3 separate regions of the Homo sapiens genome follow, and all the other regions are linked to region 2. The links are contacts of gene promoters, found by promoter capture Hi-C in blood cells and fetal thymus (Javierre and others, 2016). All regions are on one chromosome and are shown on one strand. Each heading gives the region's core, a stretch centred on a gene start or on the middle of the fragment in contact. The rest is flanking DNA. Distances are from core to core; before and after follow the strand shown.

What was found. The method cuts DNA at HindIII sites, captures the fragments that hold promoters and counts their contacts. A CHiCAGO score of 5 or more calls a contact.
Region 1: a fragment that was not itself captured here is called in contact with the fragment with the promoter of SLC28A1 in region 2 in 2 of 17 cell types (M0 macrophages and M2 macrophages); the score reaches 7.2 in M0 macrophages.
Region 3: a fragment that was not itself captured here is called in contact with the fragment with the promoter of SLC28A1 in region 2 in 3 of 17 cell types (M2 macrophages, naive CD4 T cells and total B cells); the score reaches 7.2 in M2 macrophages.

Annotation. Positions count from the first base shown.
Region 1 is chr15:84,570,238-84,573,781 of GRCh38, forward strand. LINC00933 (long intergenic non-protein coding RNA 933) reads left to right here and starts at 412. Exons shown (of 4, transcript NR_038274.1): 1 at 412-497; 2 at 1,978-2,107; 3 at 2,785-3,014. It also overlaps the pseudogene UBE2Q2P1. The HindIII fragment of the contact is 4,246 bases long and covers 1-3,544 here.
Region 2 is chr15:84,882,678-84,886,046 of GRCh38, forward strand. SLC28A1 (solute carrier family 28 member 1) reads left to right here and starts at 1,985. Exons shown (of 19, transcript NM_004213.5): 1 at 1,985-2,074. RefSeq lists enhancers at 1,064-1,564, 1,565-2,065. The HindIII fragment of the contact is 20,311 bases long and covers 1-3,369 here.
Region 3 is chr15:84,619,073-84,622,703 of GRCh38, forward strand. It overlaps ZSCAN2 (zinc finger and SCAN domain containing 2), which reads left to right. Exons shown (of 3, transcript NM_181877.4): 3 at 1,530-3,631. The coding sequence ends at 2,968. Among named protein-coding and RNA genes, the nearest start is that of ZSCAN2, 20 kb to the left of the region's middle. The HindIII fragment of the contact is 168 bases long and covers 2,231-2,398 here.

The DNA of each region.
Region 1 (3,544 bases), core at 339-2,838, 310 kb before region 2:
GCCACGCCCCGTCGCGGTCCCGGGGAGCAGGCTGGCTGACTGAGGGCGACCATGGGCCCCGAAAGGGCTGCGGGCGACGCGGGCTCCCACCTCGGGGCGCGGTGACTGGGGCGAGAGGTGCCGGCAGCCCCCAAGCCAGCCCCGCAGCAAGGAGCCAGAGAGACGCGCCCTCCCCCTCCTCCCACCCAAGCCTCCCGCAGTCCCGGCGATCGGGGCCAGGCCAGTCGCGGGAGAAAGGTGCGCGCTCACCCGGCCCGGGGAACCGGGGCCTCTCCTGGGCAGGTTCCCCTTTGTCCCGGGACTCCGGGCTCTTCCTCTCCGCCCTCGCCCTGCCGTGTGAAGCCGCCGCTGGGCGCCTCACCGTGATGTTGCAGTGGAGCCTGAGCTGCCGCGGCGGCTCCTGGTTCTTGTGGAAAATAGAGGACAACAACTTCAGCTTGGCCTTGAACCCTGACACGGACATTTTACTCTCACCTCTGGCGGGAGGGGCGCGGAAGGTGAGCCGGTCGGGAGCCGCTGTCATGGCCGCGACCACCCGCGGGACCTCTCGGCGGCGCTCTCGCGGCTCCGCCTCTCCCCGCTGCCTCAACTCTAGTCGGAGTAGGGCTGGAAAATGGCAAGGGGCACCGAGGCCTCTGCGGGGAGCTGTGTGGCGGCCTGGGCGGCTGCTCCCCTTGTAACAGACTCCACCGACAGGAGGCGCTCCTCCTGTCAAGCCACAGCTTAAAAGGACAACAGCACCACCGCCCCCGCTACCGCCTGGGAAAGGGCTGCCCCTACCCCGCTCCCGTCCCTCTCGTCCCTCACCCCTCACCCCTCACCTCTCACCCCCGCGCGCCCGGTGCGCACCCGTTTCGGCGGGTGCACGAGTCCAGAGCATGTGCGCGCTTCCGGCTGCCCCCTCCTGGCTTTGACCCAGCACTGCTGGACCCATCTAGTCCGTTCCTCACACTCGCGGACTGGAAGCTCCAGGCTGCACAACCACCAACTGGTGTGTGTGTATTTAGGGGCGGGGGGAGGTACAAAACCACCAACTCGTGTGTGTGTGTGTGTGTGTGTGTGTGTGTGTGTGTGTGTGTCTCCCAAGGGAACAGCACTGCTGAGTTCAGGCTATCAGCTCATGGACTGTCAGCAAAATACAGTCACAAGAAGGCTATGTGCTGTTTTGTCTTTTGCAGTGATGTCATGTTGCTCATGTTTTATGTTTTTCAGAGTTCATTAGTTTCTTTTTGTTCTCAGTAATATCCAGCTCAATAGATTGTGTAAGTAGAATACCCCCAAACTGAAAGTCACCTACATAAAATATAGTGAAAAATATGTCACCCACTTAAACTATAGTTGAAAATATGTACTCATTAGTTTTGTGTAGCCAACACTGGATAATGGGTAAGGAAGGGCACAGGATCCCAGGGCTAGACTGCCTGGGTTCAAGTTCCGATTTAGCTGCTTGCTGGCTGTGAAATGCTTGACAGCTTTAAGCCTCAGTTTCTTTTTTTTTTTTTAACTTAATCCCAAATGTGATAGTAAGTCTCAGTTTCTTGATCTGAAAAACAGAAATTATTCAATGAGAGTCCATGTGAAAACTTTAAAGTTTTAAAGCCACTTTCTGGCTCAGGAAAGTCCTCAGCTTTAGCTGTTAAAGTTTTAAAAGCCACTTTAAAGTTTTAAAGCCACTGCCTGGCTCAGGAAAGCCCTCAGCTTTAGCCATTATTAGCTATGATTATTATTGTGCTGGCTACACATGCATTAATGAGGCAGGAAAATGCTCAAGGATAACAACCAAGTATCCAAATTATCTCATCAGACCGAAACAGATGCATATGTTTGCATGCTCATGTTTTAGCTCAGAGCCATTTGTCTAAAAGACTCTTGAACTCAGGGGTCCAGGCAGTATCAACTTTACTTTGCAGTGAAGCCATCACGTTTGTTAATCAATGAAAACGACATAATGCTCTTTTTTTTTTTTTTTTTTTTTAGCACCAACCATGTGCCTAAAGCTAACTGTGTCAAAAAGAGCATGCTTCGAGGGGCTGGAGTGAGCAATTCAACTTGTGGAGAAATAAGAAATAATAGTGTTGAGACAAGAAACATAAAACCGCAGGGTAAGGTAGGAATCACTGAAGGTCAGGCAAAGGAACTGGCATCCAGTAATGAGTCAGGCTTTGACGGCCTCTGGCCCTACAGATGGCTCTTTGGAGAGGAAAAAATTAAGCCAGGCCTGAGGCCACAGATCCTAAGGGACTGCTGGCAGCTCTAGGCTGTCTATGGAAGAGAAGCAGAGGGTGGCACCTGGTTGAAAGAGGGAGCTGGGGGGCATGGCTTGAGCCCGCATTTACAGATAGAGTCCCCTGATTCCTGCAACTGGGGAAGAAGAGCATGCCTGGATCAGGGGACCTCAAATCAGAACTCTTCCCACCCACACCCCTTCTTTTCAGGGCATCTTTCACTGCAAACAACAGATAAACTAGTTAGAAAGCTCAGCAGATTCTCAGGATGGTGCCTAGCGGGCAGGGCCTAGCTACCCTTTGACAGTGACTGAGGGTGATGCCACAGGCCCGTAAGCACACATTGGAAAATCTTTACATCCATGGACACGCCATGCCCCACAGAGACAGCTGTGCAGGGTTCTTTAGGTTTGGGGTGCTCTGCTGGCAGTTGCCTTATAAATATATAGGATTAAAATGGGATGCCCTGGAGCTTAGCTAACCTTTACACCCCACTCTAAAAGGAACGGACTGCTAGTTTTGTCTGCTTTATAAAAGATGGATCTGTCATTGTTTTTAGAACTTTTGGAGAAAGATTTCTTGGGAGGAAGCTATCCTGAACGCTTAGAGACTTTTCTCATTTACTGGCACACCAGCTTTAGAGTCCTAGGTCTTCATCCTGGCTCAGCCACCCTCCAGCTGTGTGAACTTTGAGAAGTTGCTTGACTACACTGAGTCTCGTTGTCACTATGAGTGGAGGTTGCTACGTTGCTACTGTGTGGAGCACCTACCCCCAAGCACTCTTATAAGGTGATGGTGAAGATTAAATGAAATAATACGGCTCAAGGGGGAGGATCACTTGAAGCCAGGAGTTTGAGACTAGCCTGGGCAACAAAGCCAGACCTCATTTCTATGAAAATGTTTTTTGTTTTCTTTTGTTTTGCTTTTTGAGATGGAGTCTCGCTCTGTTGCCCAGGCTGGAGTGCAGTGGCATGATCTCAGCTCACTGCAAGCTCTGCCTCCTGGGTTCATGCCATTCTCCTGCGTCAGCCTCTGGAGTAGCTGGGACTACAGGCGCCCGCCACCACACCCAGCTAATTTTTTGCATTTTTAGTAGAAACGGGGTTTCACCATGTTAGCCAGGATGGTCTCGATATCCTCACCTTGTGATCCACCTGCCTCGGCCTCCCAAAGTGCTGGGATTACAGGCATGAGCCACCTGCCCGGCCCGAAAATGTTTTTTAAAAAATTAGCTGGACTTGATGGTTTATGCCTGTATTCCCAGCTACTCGGGAGGCTGAGGTGAGATCATTTGAGCCCAGGAGTTTGAGGCTGCAGTG
Region 2 (3,369 bases), core at 735-3,234:
TAAAATGCTAATATGAGCTGGAGAGGCAAGAGGAATAGAAGGTAAAAAGAACAACAAGGGAAATACACTTTTTAAGTACAATCAATTAAATATTAAATATTTGGGAACAGTGAGCTCTGAACTGCTTGGGTAAAATTCGCCCTGCCTGGTGGCCTTAAGCACTCCTGCAGGTGGGACCCGGCATCCTAATTCTACCAGGCCTCTTGTTGCTGCCGTAGATGAGCCCCAGACTCGGCCTTCCATTTTGTATTGGATGATGACCACATGTGCCCAGATGTTCTCAGTGAGTAGAGTGGGTCAAGGAGTAAACTATATCGGAAACCGTTGGATAATCATGCCAAGCAGGCTGGGGGCTTCCAGCCTTTGGGGTACTGGAATGCTTTCTTCCCCTGGGACCAGCTGAACTAGCTCTGTAGTTGCCGGGAGAGCAGTGTGCTCTAACACTTGGGCTAGTCCGTTCCCACAGGAAAACTAGAAGAGTCACAAGCAAAGAGTATAAAAGCCCAAGATATTTCTTTAGTCTTTGTATTTAGCTCTATGTCATCAATTTTTTTTTTTACAGGGTCTCACTCCTGTCGCCCAGGCTGGAGTGCAGTGGTGTGATTATGGTTCACTGCAGCCTTGACTTCCCAGGCTTAAATGATCCTCCCACCTCAGCCTCCTGAGTAGCTGGGATTACAGGTGCACGCCACCACACCTGTCTAATTTTTTCTATTTTTTGTAGAGACAGGGTCTCCCTGTGTTGCCCAGGCTGGTCTTGAAGTCCTGGGCTCAAGCGATCTACCTGCCTTGGCCTCCCAAAGTGCTAGGATTATTGCTACTTTCCAATATTTCTACTACAGACTACGGGAAGTCCATTTTTCAATGCCAAATGCAGAAGAAAAAGTTGTATGGATGCCCTTTCTGCCAATCATCCCAGGTTTAGGAGAGAAGAATGATGAGGTCATGTTCATGGAACTTGACGAGTGATAAGCCTCTTTATTTGTCCAGTGCTTGGATACACGAATCGATGCAATGAAAGAGACCTCGCCTGTGAAGAGCTAAGAAATGAGTGTGGGCAGAATCATGAGAAGAAAATAAAGAGATTGCTGAGCAACTCTTCTGACAGTTCTTGTGCTTTTTGAATGTTTCACTCACTACTTATAAAATAACCTATTATGTCAGAGCCTGGCGAGAAGGGATCCTCTCCAACTCTTTGACTAATAATTCCCTAAAACAGGAGGTGGCCTGCAGAAGAACTAAAACCAGAAAAGTTAGGTGGTTGCCTCTGAGGAATGGGATAGAGTTGGAGGGGTGGAGCAGCCCCTTTACTGTCAACCCTTCTGAGCTCTGCTGGATGGTGAGGGAAATTATCTATGTATATTTATGTGGTCCTCTCCCCACTCTGCCCTGGCCTGGCTCAGCTCTAGGTCTCACTCAGCGGGCGTCTGCGGGTGTGCCGGGCCTCAGAGGCTGTCTCCTTAGGAAACAGGCCACCAAGAAGCCCAAGGACATGCTGAGGTCCCACAGCTGGAGGGGCACAGCCGGGACACCTGAGGTCCTCCAGCTGTTGGTCTTTCCCTGGGGTCTCCACCCCAATCTATCCAGCCTCCCAACTCCCCAGCCTGTGGCTTTTTGCCACATTCCACCTGAAAAGACCGCTTGGCTTCTGGGGTCTGGGATCCCTGCTGGCCATGCCTCCTTGAGAGGAGGAGCAGGGGAGAAGCCCGGAGTCTCCTGGCCTGGAGGAGGGGAGCAGTGTGTCAGGACACCCCGGATGGGACCTGTGACAGCAATGACACCTGCCAGCCTGATGCCGCTTGACTCCCTGCCAGGTACTTCCTAAGCAGGAGCACGCTGACTCCTCATGTGCTCTATTACCCACCACCAGATGAGGCAGCAAGTTAACTTTGGCAGTCAGGAGTGGAGACCTTTGGGCTCCAAGCTCAAGGTCCACCCCAAGACACACAGCCCATTAAATCCTTGTTGTAGAGATTAGGGCCCACAACGATGTGAAGGTTATAAGCTGCACTGCATGGTTGCTGCTGGATGTGTTGTGTTCCTGGCTTCCCTCTGGATGCTGACAGAAACAAGGGTGAGAGAAAAGGACAGTAGGAGAGGAGGGAAGGCGGGACTGAAGAAAGGAGGGGAAGGGGGTAGCACAGGGCAAAGTGGAAAAGCAGGTAGCGTCCTTTTTTTCTTCACTAGGGCTTGGCGAAGACCCCTTCGAGGACAGCTCCAGGCCCATCCCTGTGGTGGCCACCCATGGAGACAGTAGTGCTGCTCAGAGGCATTTAGTTTTTGTTTCTTTTCTGTTTTTGAGGTAGAGTCTCGCTCTGTTGCCGAGGCTGGAGTGCAGTGGTGTGATCTCTGCTCACTGCAGCCTCCACCTCTCGGGTTCAAGCAATTCTCCTGCCTCAGCCTCCCGAGTAGCTGGGACTACAGGCACCTGCCACCATGCCTGGCTAATTTTTGTATTTTTAGTAGAGACGGGGTTTCACCATGTTGGCCAGGCTGGTCTCGAACTCCTGGCTTCAAGTGATCTGCCCACCTTGGCCTCCCAAAGTGCTGGGAGTGCAGGCATGAGCCACCGTGCCCCCCCTCTTTTTTTTTTTTAAAGGTAGAGTCTTGCTCTGTGGCTAGTTTTCAATCAAGGTAACACATGGGCTCTCAACAGTGTGCGGAACTCTGCTAGAAAAATCAAATTATGAGAACACTGTTACTGTGTGATCCCCTATTGGAAAATGAATAACATAAAATAACATACATTTAGGAAAAAAAAAGTGGAGAAAAGGCCAGGCGCGGTGGCTCATGCCTGTAATCCCAGCACTTTGGGAGGCCAAGGTGGGTGGACCACCTGAGGTTGGAAGTTCGAGACCAGCCTGACCAACATGGAGAAACCCCATCTCTACTAAAAATACAAAATTAGCCAGGTGTGGTGGCGCATGCCTGTAATCACAGCTACTTGGGAGGCTGAGGCAGGAGAATCGCTTGAACTTGGGAGGCGGAGGTTGCAGTGAACCGAGCTCGCACCACTGTACTCCAGCCTGGGCAACAAGAGTGAAACTCCGTCTCAAAAAAAAAAAAAAAAAGGAGGAAAATGCCACACAAACTCAATAGTGGTCATCCCTGAGGGCTCAGATTCCGGGGACTTTAACTTCCCTCATTCTGTATATTTCTCTAATGTTTAAATGTTTAATGATACACTTGTAATGCTTTGGTAATTCAAATGACAGATGAAGAAAAAATGTTTTCAAAAAGAGGGGGTGTCCATCCACCATCCTCTCCAAACTTCCAAAACAACCAGGAGGTGCCGGTACTAGCAAGTATTTATGCATCATAGAGGATTTTGTCCTGAGCGCGTACCATTAATTATTAAAGAGATGTTGT
Region 3 (3,631 bases), core at 1,065-3,564, 260 kb before region 2:
CTTTTACTCAAATATTTGGGCACTGGAAGGTTTAACAAGTTCCTGGAAGACATATTACCAATTAAAGATCTATTCATGGCTGGGCGCGGTGGCTCACGCCTGTAATCCCAGCACTTTGGGAGGCCGAGGCGGGCGGATCACAAGGTCAGGAGATCGAGACCATCCTGGCTAACATGGTGAAACCCCGTCTCTCTAAAAATACAAAAAATTAGCCGGGTGTGGTGGTGGGCGCCTGTAGTCCCAGCTACTCGGGAGGCTGAGGCAAGAGAATGGCGTGAACTGGGGAGGCGGAGCTTGCAGTGAGCCGAGATCGCGCCATTGCACTCCAGCCTGGGCCACACAGCGAGACTCCGTCTCAAAAAAAAAAAAAAAATCTATTCATAAGCTCCCACTGCAGACAAATTTGAGGGCTCTTTTAACAATCCAGTTAACTTGCTTCTAGTCATTGGTATACACACCTAGGGTCCTTATTGCACGGGCTCTGTCATCTTTCCTGTGTCTAAATACAAAGTAATGCGGTCATAAACACCAGATACATGTCAATACAAGAAATTATTATATAAGCTCCTTTTGAAAGGAGACTGAGCTTTAGGGAAATGTCTATGGTACCAATAAAAAAACTCATTCATGCACTCATTACATTGAATCAAGCACCAGGCATTATGGTGAGTGTGGGGGTAATTGGGTAGGTACCCTGTTTATGTCCTTTAAAATTCCCACCTGACCTCATTTTCAGATGAAGACACAGGTAGTGGGGACATGGAACCCAAATCTTTAAGGCTTTGAAATTCTGGGTGATTGCCACAAAGATTATGAGGCCTGACAACCAGTCAGAATGAAATAAGCCTGGGTTGGTTTTTTTTTTTTTTTTTTTCCATCAGCTTTTAGGTTCAGGGGTACATGTGCAGGATGTGCAGGTTTGCTACAAAGGTAAATGCGTGCCATGGTGGTTTACTGCACAGGTCATCCCACCACCTAGGTATTAAGCCCAGCATCCATTAGCTATTCTTCCTGATGCTCTCCCTCCCCCTCCCCCACAGGCCCCAGGGTGTGTTATTTCCCTCCATGTGCTCATGTGTTCTCTTCATTCAGCTCCTGCTTATAAGAGAAAAGATGCAGTGTTTGGTTTTCTGTTCCTATGTTAGTTTGCTGAGGATAATGGCTTCCAATTCCATTCATGTCCCTGCAAAAGATATGATCTCATTCTTTTTTTTGGCTGCATAGTATACCATGGTGTATATGTACTACATTTTCTTCATCCAATCTATCATTGATGGGCATTTGGGTTGATTCTATGTCTTTGCTATTGTGAATAGTGCAGCATTGAACATGTGTGTGCATGTATCTTTATAATAGAATGATTTATATTCCTTTGGGTATATTAAACCTGATTATTAAAGGCTTTGAGGATTTTCTAGCCTCTTTGTGTTCACTGGAAGTTTAATTTTTATAAATTTCCCCCTTCGTTTTCTTTTGTCATCATGACAGGGAGTTGAGTAGACATTGTATGTTTTTCTTCATTGTTTCAGATTTTGAGATACAGAGTGAAAATGGGGAGAACTGTAATCAAGACATGTTTGAGAATGAATCACGTAAGATATTCTCGGAAATGCCTGAAGGTGAAAGTGCTCAGCACTCCGATGGGGAAAGTGACTTTGAGAGAGATGCTGGCATCCAGAGGCTCCAGGGACACAGCCCAGGTGAGGACCACGGGGAGGTGGTTTCTCAGGACAGGGAAGTTGGCCAGCTCATAGGCCTGCAGGGCACCTACCTAGGGGAGAAGCCCTACGAATGTCCCCAGTGTGGGAAGACCTTCAGCCGGAAATCCCACCTCATCACACACGAGAGGACCCACACAGGAGAGAAATACTACAAATGTGATGAATGTGGAAAAAGCTTTAGTGATGGTTCAAATTTTAGTAGACACCAAACCACTCACACCGGGGAGAAGCCCTACAAATGCAGAGACTGTGGGAAGAGCTTTAGCCGGAGTGCCAACCTCATAACCCACCAGAGGATCCACACGGGGGAAAAGCCCTTCCAGTGTGCCGAGTGTGGCAAGAGCTTCAGCAGGAGTCCCAACCTCATTGCACATCAGCGCACCCACACAGGAGAGAAACCCTACTCGTGCCCCGAGTGTGGAAAGAGCTTTGGCAACCGATCCAGCCTTAACACGCATCAGGGGATCCACACTGGAGAAAAGCCCTACGAATGTAAAGAATGCGGCGAAAGCTTTAGTTACAACTCCAATCTAATCAGACACCAGAGAATCCACACAGGAGAGAAACCCTACAAATGTACCGACTGTGGGCAGAGGTTCAGCCAGAGTTCAGCCCTCATCACCCACCGGAGAACCCACACAGGAGAGAAACCCTACCAGTGCAGCGAGTGTGGGAAAAGCTTCAGCCGCAGCTCTAACCTGGCCACACACCGGAGAACCCACATGGTGGAGAAGCCCTATAAGTGTGGGGTGTGTGGGAAGAGCTTCAGCCAGAGCTCCAGTCTGATTGCACACCAGGGCATGCACACAGGGGAGAAACCCTACGAGTGCCTGACATGTGGGGAGAGCTTCAGCTGGAGCTCCAACCTCCTCAAGCACCAGAGGATCCACACGGGAGAGAAACCCTACAAATGCAGCGAGTGTGGGAAATGCTTCAGCCAGCGCTCCCAGCTCGTAGTGCACCAGCGGACCCACACGGGCGAGAAGCCCTACAAATGCCTCATGTGCGGCAAGAGCTTCAGCCGGGGCTCCATTCTGGTCATGCACCAGAGAGCCCATTTGGGAGACAAGCCCTACAGGTGCCCTGAGTGTGGGAAAGGCTTTAGCTGGAACTCAGTCCTCATTATACATCAGCGAATCCACACTGGGGAGAAGCCCTACAAATGCCCCGAGTGTGGCAAAGGCTTCAGCAACAGCTCTAACTTTATCACACATCAGAGAACTCACATGAAAGAGAAACTTTATTGAAGTGGCAAAGAGTGAAAGTGAGGGACTGGCCTGGAGTGGGAGTTGCCACACTGCCCCAACAGTGATTCCCTTTCAAAGAGCTGTGCTTCCTAAACATTCTGGGGGGTTTTGCCAGAGTCTTCCCCTTGCTCATCCTCATTTCCAGGACACTGTCATTTTAGTGGTCTGAGTCAAGTCCCGTATACATTCAAGAACAGGGCATAGGCGTGGAAGGTCTGGAAAGTTGGGTCTTTTTCCCTTACATTGGGTGACTTGATTGGCCCCCTCTCATGATTCCTCTGTGCCTCAGTTTCCTCTTTGGTAAAATGGGGGGAAATGTTTCTCCATGTGGAATGGAAGACAGCATGGCCCACAACGTGGGCCGAGTCCTCAGAGAAATACTGGAAATCATTGGTGTGGTTCTGGTTGTTTTGTTGTTTTGCTGCCACGTTGTTGGGCTAAGGTGCCTTCACCCCAAGCTGTTAGTGTTCCAGGGCACCCCAAGCTGTCAGTTAGAATCTGCTCTTCTGGCTTTGGTGTCTTGGGCTTTGATTTCAGGTCAAGATGGAGGGGCTTCTCCAGTTCTGAGTCACCCACGTGAAGGTAAAGACCCTTTCTATTTCCAGAAAGTGTCAGGAGCACAGAAACTTGAGGAAGTACAGCCTGGAGCCAGTGTCCCAGTGT